2 separate regions of the Homo sapiens genome follow, and region 2 is linked to region 1. The links are contacts of gene promoters, found by promoter capture Hi-C in human tissues and cell types (Jung and others, 2019). All regions are on one chromosome and are shown on one strand. Each heading gives the region's core, a stretch centred on a gene start or on the middle of the fragment in contact. The rest is flanking DNA. Distances are from core to core; before and after follow the strand shown.

What was found. Contacts are between HindIII fragments. The study calls those that stand out against the background at their distance.
Region 2: a fragment that was not itself captured here is called in contact with the fragment with the promoter of CCPG1 in region 1 in 1 of the 25 tissues and cell types used here (dorsolateral prefrontal cortex).

Annotation. Positions count from the first base shown.
Region 1 is chr15:55,407,109-55,412,079 of GRCh38, forward strand. CCPG1 (cell cycle progression 1) reads right to left here and starts at 1,251. Exons shown (of 9, transcript NM_001204450.2): 1 at 1,113-1,251. PIERCE2 (piercer of microtubule wall 2) reads left to right here and starts at 1,387. Exons shown (of 2, transcript NM_001198784.2): 1 at 1,387-1,678. The coding sequence starts at 1,661. The region is part of intron 8 of DNAAF4-CCPG1 (DNAAF4-CCPG1 readthrough (NMD candidate)); the gene reads right to left. RefSeq lists enhancers at 471-750, 1,111-1,380, 1,431-1,630. The HindIII fragment of the contact is 18,708 bases long and covers 1-4,971 here.
Region 2 is chr15:53,977,603-53,982,188 of GRCh38, forward strand. UNC13C (unc-13 homolog C) reads left to right here and starts at 839. Exons shown (of 33, transcript NM_001080534.3): 1 at 839-1,325. The region is part of intron 1 of LOC124903495 (a long non-coding RNA gene); the gene reads right to left. The HindIII fragment of the contact is 4,386 bases long and covers 1-4,308 here.

The DNA.
Region 1 (4,971 bases), core at 1-2,500:
TCCCAGATACTCGGGAGGCTGAGGCAGGAGAATCGTTTGAAACTGGAAGGCAGAGGTTGCAGTGAGCCGAGATCGCGCCACTGCACTCCAGCCTGGGCAACAAGAGCGAAACCCTCTCTCAAAAAAAAAAAAAATATGAATTAAAATAATACCCTCACCATCTCCATCTTCTGCTATATGACCTGAACTCAGAAAATAAAAGTAAACCATTCACACTGGATGTGTGTGATAAATATCCCCTGAGACGTGTGGGACCCAATATGATTCTAATCTTAAAAGATACGATGCAGTAATAGCGATATTTCAAGCACTATCCTGTAGATTGGAGGAGACAAATCTAAAATTCATAGTACTATATAGTTAGCTATTCTAACTACAAGAATGCCCAACTGTGTTTTTCAATAAAAGTAGAGCAGAACAGTGCAAACTTCACCACTCAATAAAATACCTTACTTGGCGCTCCCAATAGTGCTAAACATAAACAACGCGTACAAGGCACTGCATGGGACAGCTGCTAATGAGGACAAATCGATTAGGGAGACCAAAGCTAAAGGAGGCCACTGGAACTGGAGAAGGATATGGAGAGGTATTTGATCATCATCAGGCTGGCGTGCTAGCGGAAGTCTCCGGGCATTATTTAATATTTAATCTTTCTATTCCTGACATCACGGGGGCTCAAATGTCATCAAAAGACAGGCTGGCATTAAACCCGGCAGGGTGACGCACATAACATCTTACCATATGGATTTTCATCAGTCCAGACCGACAAGCACCTCAAAGCCTGCCCAGTGAAGGAAGAAGGGTGGCCCAGGCCGTCAGCTCTCCCACCCTTGGCGCGCAGTTCGGTATAGCACTCGGGGTTTGGAGGCTGCAAGACCACCGGACCGGACGCCCCAGGGTCGGCTCGGGCCTCCGGAGCTGTGCACTCGCGCACGGCCCGAGGAGGTCGCCCGTGCGGCCGCTGACACCAGGCGTCAAGTCCCCGCCCGAGCAGCCCCAGCCTAGGAGGCGGACCCCGCCACTGCTCCTCTACTGAGCCGAGCGTGTCGGCCAGGGACTCAGACAGTCGGCACAAACCCCCTCCCGGGGTCTAAGCCCGCCTAGTACAGTACCTGAAGGGGCAGCGCCACCTCCGCCCGATTGTGCTGGCTGCCCCAGTGGCGGCGGTCACAGCTCGGGCGCCAATGACGCCTCTTATAAAAACAACCTGCTCGCAGGCGTCTGCAGCCGGCAGGCGGTGACCGGCTGGGCGCCGCAGTGCATGCCGTGACGCGTAGTCCCGCCTGCGCCTCCTGCCCGGCAGCGGTGAAGAGAAGAACTACCACTCCCGAAGTGGAGCGCAGGCCGCCGCCGGGCGGCTGCGGGAAGCTGGGCCAGGCGGCCGCAGATCCCCACAACATCCGGGAGCCGGCGACCACTTCCAGTTGCTATGGTTACGAGTTGCAACCTCCAGAAAGAATTCGTGGTTTCACCCGGGAAAACAGCTCCCCGGATTAAACGGATAGGTTTACACATACTGATCCACCCAGCTATTCATCTTCTGTTTGCTGCTTTAATTGGGTGCGGTTAAAAGGCCACGTCCCTAGGCGTTCACCGGCTTTCTTGCCATCTGCTGCATGAAAACTGACTTTGCCGAAAAAATTAACAAAGAAGAGCGAAAATGACAGACCGCAACCGGGTGAGTTTAGGCAGAGGGCTAGATGTTTGGGAATGTTGGTATTCGCTAGTATAATTTGAGGCACCACCTACTCCTACCACCCCCAACCCCACAACCCCGAAAAGCACTTTACAAGGCAACTACTGAGCTTTTACATTTACACTTGTAAATGCACGTTTCCTTAAGTCCGAATAGCCTCTGAAGGTGTAAAGACCATCGAGATTGTATGCATTCATACCCTACTGTTGCAAACTGTTCAGTGATGGTTTTGAACAAGAAAAACGTACTTTGTTAATTGTATACTTATTTAAATTGCACTGTGTCAAAGAAGGGAGTTGTTTTGAAAAAGGATTTGGTGGCCGGGCGCCGGGGCTCAACGCCTGTAATCCCAGCAATTTGGGAGGCCGAAGCGGGTGGATCACCTGAGGTCAGGAGTTCGAGACCAGCCTGACCTACATGGTGAAACTCCGTCTCTACTAAATACAAAAAATTAGCCAGGAGAGGTGGCGCGGGCCTGTAATCCCAGCTACTTGGGAGGCTGAGACAGCAGAATTGCTTGAACCTGGGAGGCAGAGGTTGCAGTGAGCCGAGATTGCGCCACTGAACTGCAGCCTGGGCAACAAGAGCAAAACTCCGTCTCAAAAAAAAAAAATCTTACATTTATATTCACTCTTTACAGAAGCAATAAAAAGTTTAGGTTTCATTCTCTGTCCCCTAATTGTGGTAAAAGTAAATAAATAAATGGAAAAATTAATAATAAACGTAAACATTAGCAAGGAAGACGGTGGACCTGAGCAGAGACAAAAGAGTGCCTCAAAATTAGACCTTTTTTATTTTTTATTTTTGCTTTTCTATTAACTATATTCAACATCAACAGTGACATCAAAAAATCTTAATTTTATAATTACAGCTTCTGCGATGGGCATTATTAATCAATGGCTTGTTTTCATTTATCTTTTTAAATGTATATGTATCTATACCAAAGGACTTCGAAAGGTCAAAGTGGTCTGGCTTTCTCTAACTGAAAATTAAATTACTAAGAAAGCTAATACCAGCTACTGGTAGATTTTTATACCTTTCAAGCCACTTTCACAGGCCAATTTTAAGATGTAATTTCTTCTGAAAAATCATTTACAATTTTAATTAACCTTTTTATCATTTAATAAAAGTTGATGACATGTGGCAGATAATTTGAACTCATCCTTTTATTATTCTTTGTATTGGCTATTTGTTTCGTTCTTAACTATAGTCAGTTTGAACTCCACATTTTAAGAATATCAGGTTTGAAGAAGGTGAAACCCATATTAGAAAACTGCAGTGGTTGTCTATGATGTAAAGTATAAAGCAATGGACCTTTTGTTTCTGAATCTATAAACATTTGTGAATTATCCTGGAAATCTAAAAAATTTTTAATTTAAGATTTAGCTTTTCCAGATTTTATGGTACTAATTATGCCAACAAAGTTTATCAGCTAATTTGTCTTCTGTTTTTACTAGATTTCGTTTTCTGCATTATGTTTTGAGCCAAAGCTGAACGAAATTCTAGAACCAGTAGTAAAGAGGGTCATTTGATAACAAGAAGAGTTCTCAGCTGGGCGCGGTGGCTCATGCCTATAATTCCAGCATTTAAGGCCCAGTACTCTGGGAGGCCGAGGCAGGCGAATCGCCTGAGTTCAAGAGTTCGAGACCAGCCTGACCAACATGGAGAAACACTATCTCTACTAAAAACACAAAATTAGCCGGGCGTGGTGACGCATGCCTATAATCCCAGCTACTCGGGTGGCTGAGGCAAGAGAATCGCTTGAATCCGGGAGGCGGAGGTTGCAGTGAGCCAAGATCACGCCACTGCACTCCAGCCTAGGCAACAAGAGCAAAACTCCATCTCAAAAAATAAAAAAATAAAAAAGAGTTCTCAGTGACTGAAGGAGATAGTATTAACAACAACAACAACAAAATCTACAAGTTGCCCTGGGCAACCTGCTTAGGTGCCCATAAAAGTAAATTACAGTGGTACTTTTCTGCGCAAGTCACAGGGCCTCCACCTTCCACCTATAAAGCTTTCCCCTGTGCTGAGGAAACCTAGAAAATTTAAGAAAAGCTGATCAGTTGAGATACCATCAAAATTTTAAAATTCTTATGATTTACTATTATCCAGTATCTGTGTTGTTAATATTTAAAGCAAATTAATAAGCAGTTTCAAAAAGAATAAACAGCAAGATCTGATGAGAATAACATTGATGACACTCAGTGAACCTGAGTTCTATTTCCAGCTTTGCCAACTACAAACTTATGAGTATTAAGTGAATATTAGCAAACCATATTATGCTAATACAAGGTCATTAACCTGTAGGTTTCAGAACTGTTTCTGGAAGATCATACATTGAGGTAAACCTGCAAAAAAGAAAATAATAAAATTTGGTGAGGCATGGTGGCTCACGACTGTAGTCCCAGCACTTTGGAAAGCTGAGGTAGGCGGATCATCAGAGGTCAGGAGTTTGGGAACAGCCTGGCCAACATGGTGAAACCCCATTTCTACTAAAAACACAAAAATTAGCCAGGTGTGTTGGCAGGCACCTGTAGTCCCAGCTACTCTGGAAGCTGAGGCAGGGGAATCACTTGAACCTGGGACGCAGAGGTTACAATGAGCTGCGACTGCGCCACTGCACTCCAGCTTAGGTGACAGAGCAAAACTCCATCTCAAAAAATAAAATAAAATAGTGATAAAAATTGATTCCATTTGGCCAGGCGCAGTGGCTCACACCTGTAATCCCAACACTTTGGGAAGCCGAGGCAGGTGGATCACTTGAGGTCAGGAGTCCAAAACCAGCCTGGCCATCATGGTGAAACCCCATCTCTACTAAAAATACAAAAATTAGGCTAGGCACGGTGGCTCACGCTTGTAATTCCAGCACTTTGGGAGGCCGAGGCGGGCGGATCACCTGAGGTTGGGAGTTCGAGACCAACCTGACTAACATGGAGAAACCCCATCTCTACTAAAAATACACAATTAGCCAGGCATGGTGGTGCATGCCTGTAATCACAGCTACTCGGGAGTCTGAGGCAGGAGAATGGCTTGAACCCAGAAGGCGGAGGTTGCGGTGAGCTGAGATTGCACCATTGCCCTCCAGCCTGGGCAACAAGAGCAAAACTCCTTCTCACAAAAAAAAATAAATAAATTTAGCTGAGCGTGGTGGCGCACGCCTTTAAGCCCAGCGATTTGGGAGGCTAAGGCAGGAGAATTGCTTGAACCCAGGAGGCAGAGGTTGCAGTGAGCCAAGATCACACCATTGCACTCCAGACTGGGCAACAGAGTGA
Region 2 (4,586 bases), core at 866-3,365, 1.4 Mb before region 1:
ACCTCCAAATTATTTCAGGCCTCAAGCTGCTTTAAGGCTGTATTTTAAGATTCAGTACTTTTTTATTTGTTTCAACAGGAGGATTAGAGGATTGAAAATGCTTTATTGATGGAAAGTGGGAACTGTTACTCCCCCCACCTCCTCTACTCAGCAAAACTAAAAGAGAAAGCAAGTCCATTCAATTCCCAGCCAGATCTTTAAAATGTTAACATCAAATGAAAAGACATTATTCCTAAGTGAGAAGAAAAACCTTTGCATCACTGTAAGTTACCCATCATTTCCCACTTTGATTTATGCATGTGTCATTAATTGAAATTGTTCAGGAATCACCTTCAAATGGTTTTCCACAAAAATAAGAGGAAAAACCAACTGGGATGGGATATCAGTATCTCCTCTATTTAAATACAGGGTCCTGTTAGCTGCATTTGGTGGCTAATAGGGAATGATACTGTGTGCGGTATACTTTCATAATTCCAAGTACAGTCAAGTACATCTAAAACAGTCATTGTTGAATAACATGGGTAATTTAGTATTATCCACGCTATTCCACTGGCAGAATTGGCCATGACTGTCTCCTAGGTCATCATCCAGCGATAAAGGGAAGATAGGCTGAGGAAGCTCTGGCATTCAGGCGTCTCCCAGCGATGAAGCTGTGTCCCACACAGTTAGTTGTCAGTGCGGTGGTGAAGGCCACACCTGGCAGTGGCTACAGTGCGTCTCCTGTGAGCAGGGGCTGTAGCTCACCCTCTCGGAGCTACGCCGTGCTACGGCGGCAGGAGAGGGAGCCCGGGCGCTCTCGGTGGAGGAGGCTGGGGATCGCAGTGCCGGTGCTGCATTCAGAAAAGACTCAGCCGCAGCCGGCGATGTGTGAAGTTCCCAGCACGCACTCAGCCCGGCTGCTCCTCACCCTCAAATGTTGATGAGCCTGGGCGCTCCTCAACACACGGGAGAGATCCCATTTTGCTTTCTGGGAGAAAGAGATGAGAAATGAGCCGCGGAAGGTATTTGGCAATGAGAAGAGTGAAAGGCAGTTTCTTGCCAGCAGCTAAGTTGTAGAATTGCTTCGGAGGCTACCCGGGAGTGCGATAGAATTGACAAGAAAAGAACAGACACCGTTGCAGACCAAGGCATGCCTGATTGCACGAGTCGGATCCCTGGGACGCAGCTTCCACTCCTGTTCTAACTATTTGTGATTGAAAAAAGGAAACGAGACTAGAAACACAATTGCAAGTGGTGTTCCTAAAAGGAAAACACATACACTCCAAAAGGAGGGGAAGAACAACCCAGTTGGCGTGCACATTTTTTTTTAAAGGAGAATTCCTCAGGTATGTTCTTTCCTCCGTTGCACGCACTGCTTCATCTGCATGCGATTTTCTGTCTGTATTTTCCTGTCCCTTCTTTTTGTTTGCACTTGGAAATCACAACCATGGGGTTCTCTTAGCGTAGCAGATATATTTGTAAAATCTCGGCTCTCCTGTTTTTATAATGTACATGATTCTATGGAGCATCATGACTTCTCAGTCATTGCTTTTAAAAAAAGAATTCAGAATGATAAATGACTGCTTAGTTTCCAGTCAACTTTCAGGAGAATATCTACATAGGGACAAATAGGGTTGAGATGAAAGGCTGGGATATTCCATAACCCCTCGGAATTTTGGAAGAAAAAAATAGAGCTCAACAGAGAACAAAAGTTGAGGGCTTCTAGGAAAGGGTTAAAAGCCAAGATGTCATACACTAGTGTGTCACCCAAGTGTTTTTCCAGCTCAGCATCCAGTCTGAAGCAAAAGAAGCTTTACCAATGATTTTTTTATTTCTAGCTCTTCATCAGTTCTTCAAGAAGAAGATCCTGCAGATTTACTTTCAAGAGATGAATTGCTTAAATTGTGTGCTTGGTTCTGTTTTACAACTGTTCTGTGGTGCTCAAGGAGGCAGTCTAAAAAAATCCCTTTGGTCCAACAGCATGAGTAAACCCTAACTTCTGCAATTACATCATCAATATACTTGTATCATCAAGAGTAAGACAGATATACAACAATAGTAATGTTGGCTGTCTTTAGTACCTAGACGGAGATGACAACACTTAAAAATCAATTTTCCTCGTTAGGCTTTTAAGGAAAAACAGGAAAGAGGTTTGAGGGTGGGTAATGCTTATAAAGATTAGTTTTAAAATACTCTGCATTTCTTTAAGAAGCTAAAATTGTAAGTTTATATAATTTTGAAATTAATAAAAAACTTAATGATTTTTAGAAAATCATCTTACCACCTTTTGCTCATCAATACTTTTCATAAAAGTGGGTTAAATTGTCAATAAATTAAATGTGCATATGTCTATATTAAATGAGATTTTCTGGAGGGGAGAAACGAGAATGAGAAAGTACTACATTTTTGTATATATAAAATATTTAATAGATTTTTAGTGTTAACACAGAGTTAATGCCAAAGCTCTAGGACCCTGGCTTTTAATTATTGTTGTTCCCACTTTCTTATGATTAAAAAGTTCAAATGCAATAGAGGTAAGTGGGCTTTAAATTGTCATTTATGCATACTGTAAAGTAAATCACCACCCTGCTCTTTGAAAACTATAAACCTCATTTTTGCCAAATGGTAGCTATCTGGAGCACTTAGGCCGTAAACAAAATGAGGAAATCATTTGTTTTAAAATTCCACGCATGACTATAACAACAACAATGTCAAAATATGGTAAGTATAGGCAATTCTTGATACCAGAGGAGTGATTTAGAAAATGAGCAAAGTATTAAGTTTATGTTTGTTAGTAGGGAGTGAAAAACATTGTGTGTTTCTTCTATGTTGACATCTTGTATAAAGAAGCTTATGATGTCTGTAGGTGAAACACTATAGCAGTAATTTTACTGAATCCATTAAGTAATTTTTTAAACTAATAAACTGATCAAGGATCATCTAAAAGAATATTTGAAACTCTAATTTACAAAATTGTATTTTCAAACTATAATGGAATTTTGTTGAGAAAGTAATTTCAGTAGAATTGCCAATGTTTTTTCAGTAAAATTTGAAGGTGGATAGTAGGTAAGGGTTTATTTCCTAGCATTCAATAATTTGTTGTTAGACCTCCATTAAAGAAATCTGGAAACTCCTTCCAGAGATCATCATCACTATGTGCTAGGTAAATTCATGCCCAGGTGAAATACGAGGTAAAGTGTTAGCAAAGCCTAGAGAAATCACTTTTCATGGGCTTATTGTTAATAAAGTAAACTGTTTTCCTTTCCAGGCCATATAATAACTTGCTATGGTTGCTAATCTTTAAATGTGAAGCAATATAGTTTGTGGTGCACAGAACTAGTTGCTTAAGAGCCCATGGGTCATTGGAAACACAGGATAATTGCAGTGATTCCCCTTTTAAAGACAAAACACACCAAATGTATGTTGGGGCTTAGGTGGGGTTGGGAGGAAGGTCAGTGCAGAAGAGAACGTACTTCGTTGTCTGCTGATTTAGGGCAAACCTCTGTTTTTTGTAATATCAGACACTTTTGGTATGATAATATCTTTTCCCCGATTCTCCAGGCACTTTCATTTCTGTTAACCTTTTCAGCTAATGCAATGCATAAACCCTGCCATAACTTCTCTGAAGTATTATGCCACCTGTACGTTGTCTTCCAGTTTCAACATATATGTTTCTGTTATTCATTCTTTCCATCCCATAGTCTTTACTACGGAAAGGCATTCTCTAGAATTTTTGAAGACATTAGAATCATTTTGTCACCCAAGAAAAACAATCCTGCTTTGCATCTAGAAATTTTAAGAGTTTTAAATACATGCCAAGTTTGTTTCTGAAATACACTTTTATAGCTAGAAAGCCACTTTCTAAATAGGTCATAGTTTGTACCTAATATCAATTCATTTGGTAATATGCATTTAGAATAACTGTAGCAAAAAATTGCAAATTCAAAGTATCAAATTTGTATTTCTGTTGTTATTACAAATCCTTTCTGGATCTTAAGTTGTCTGTGGTTGGATCACTAGGCTCCAACTTTCTTCTAGCTTAAAAAAAAGGATTTATTAATAGCCCTCTCAATCTGTAGCTTTTGAGAATGCAAAAGACTGATCACCGGTTCTATAATCTCTACAGAGAAAATGGATGCCACAGCAGTATTTGTTTCACTTGTAGTCTTTTAAGGCATAGGAAGGGAGACAGGAATAAATATTCTAACCTCTAGGTCAAAAGTCCCCCAGAGGAGAAGTAGACAATAAGACACACTGAATCGTTTCTCCATCTCTTGTCAAAATGGTTGTGATGCAGTAGGCATAAATGTTTCCCATCTCTTTTATATCCTAGTCATATTGTATATTTTAGTCTCAGCATACAGAAATTAATTATAATCTTGATATGGAAGAGAGTTTTATATTATTCTTCCTATGTAAACAGTTAAGAAAATATTTTGTAGAAATAAATGCTAGATAGAAAGATAGGAACTCAACATTATAAATTGTACTCAGAGATTTCGAAGTATTTTTAAAAAGTAATCATAAAAGATGGGCTTCCCTTTCAAATATTTTCTTGTCTCCCTACATTTTCACAATCCCATCTTCAGCCTGTCTTTTGCTCCCAA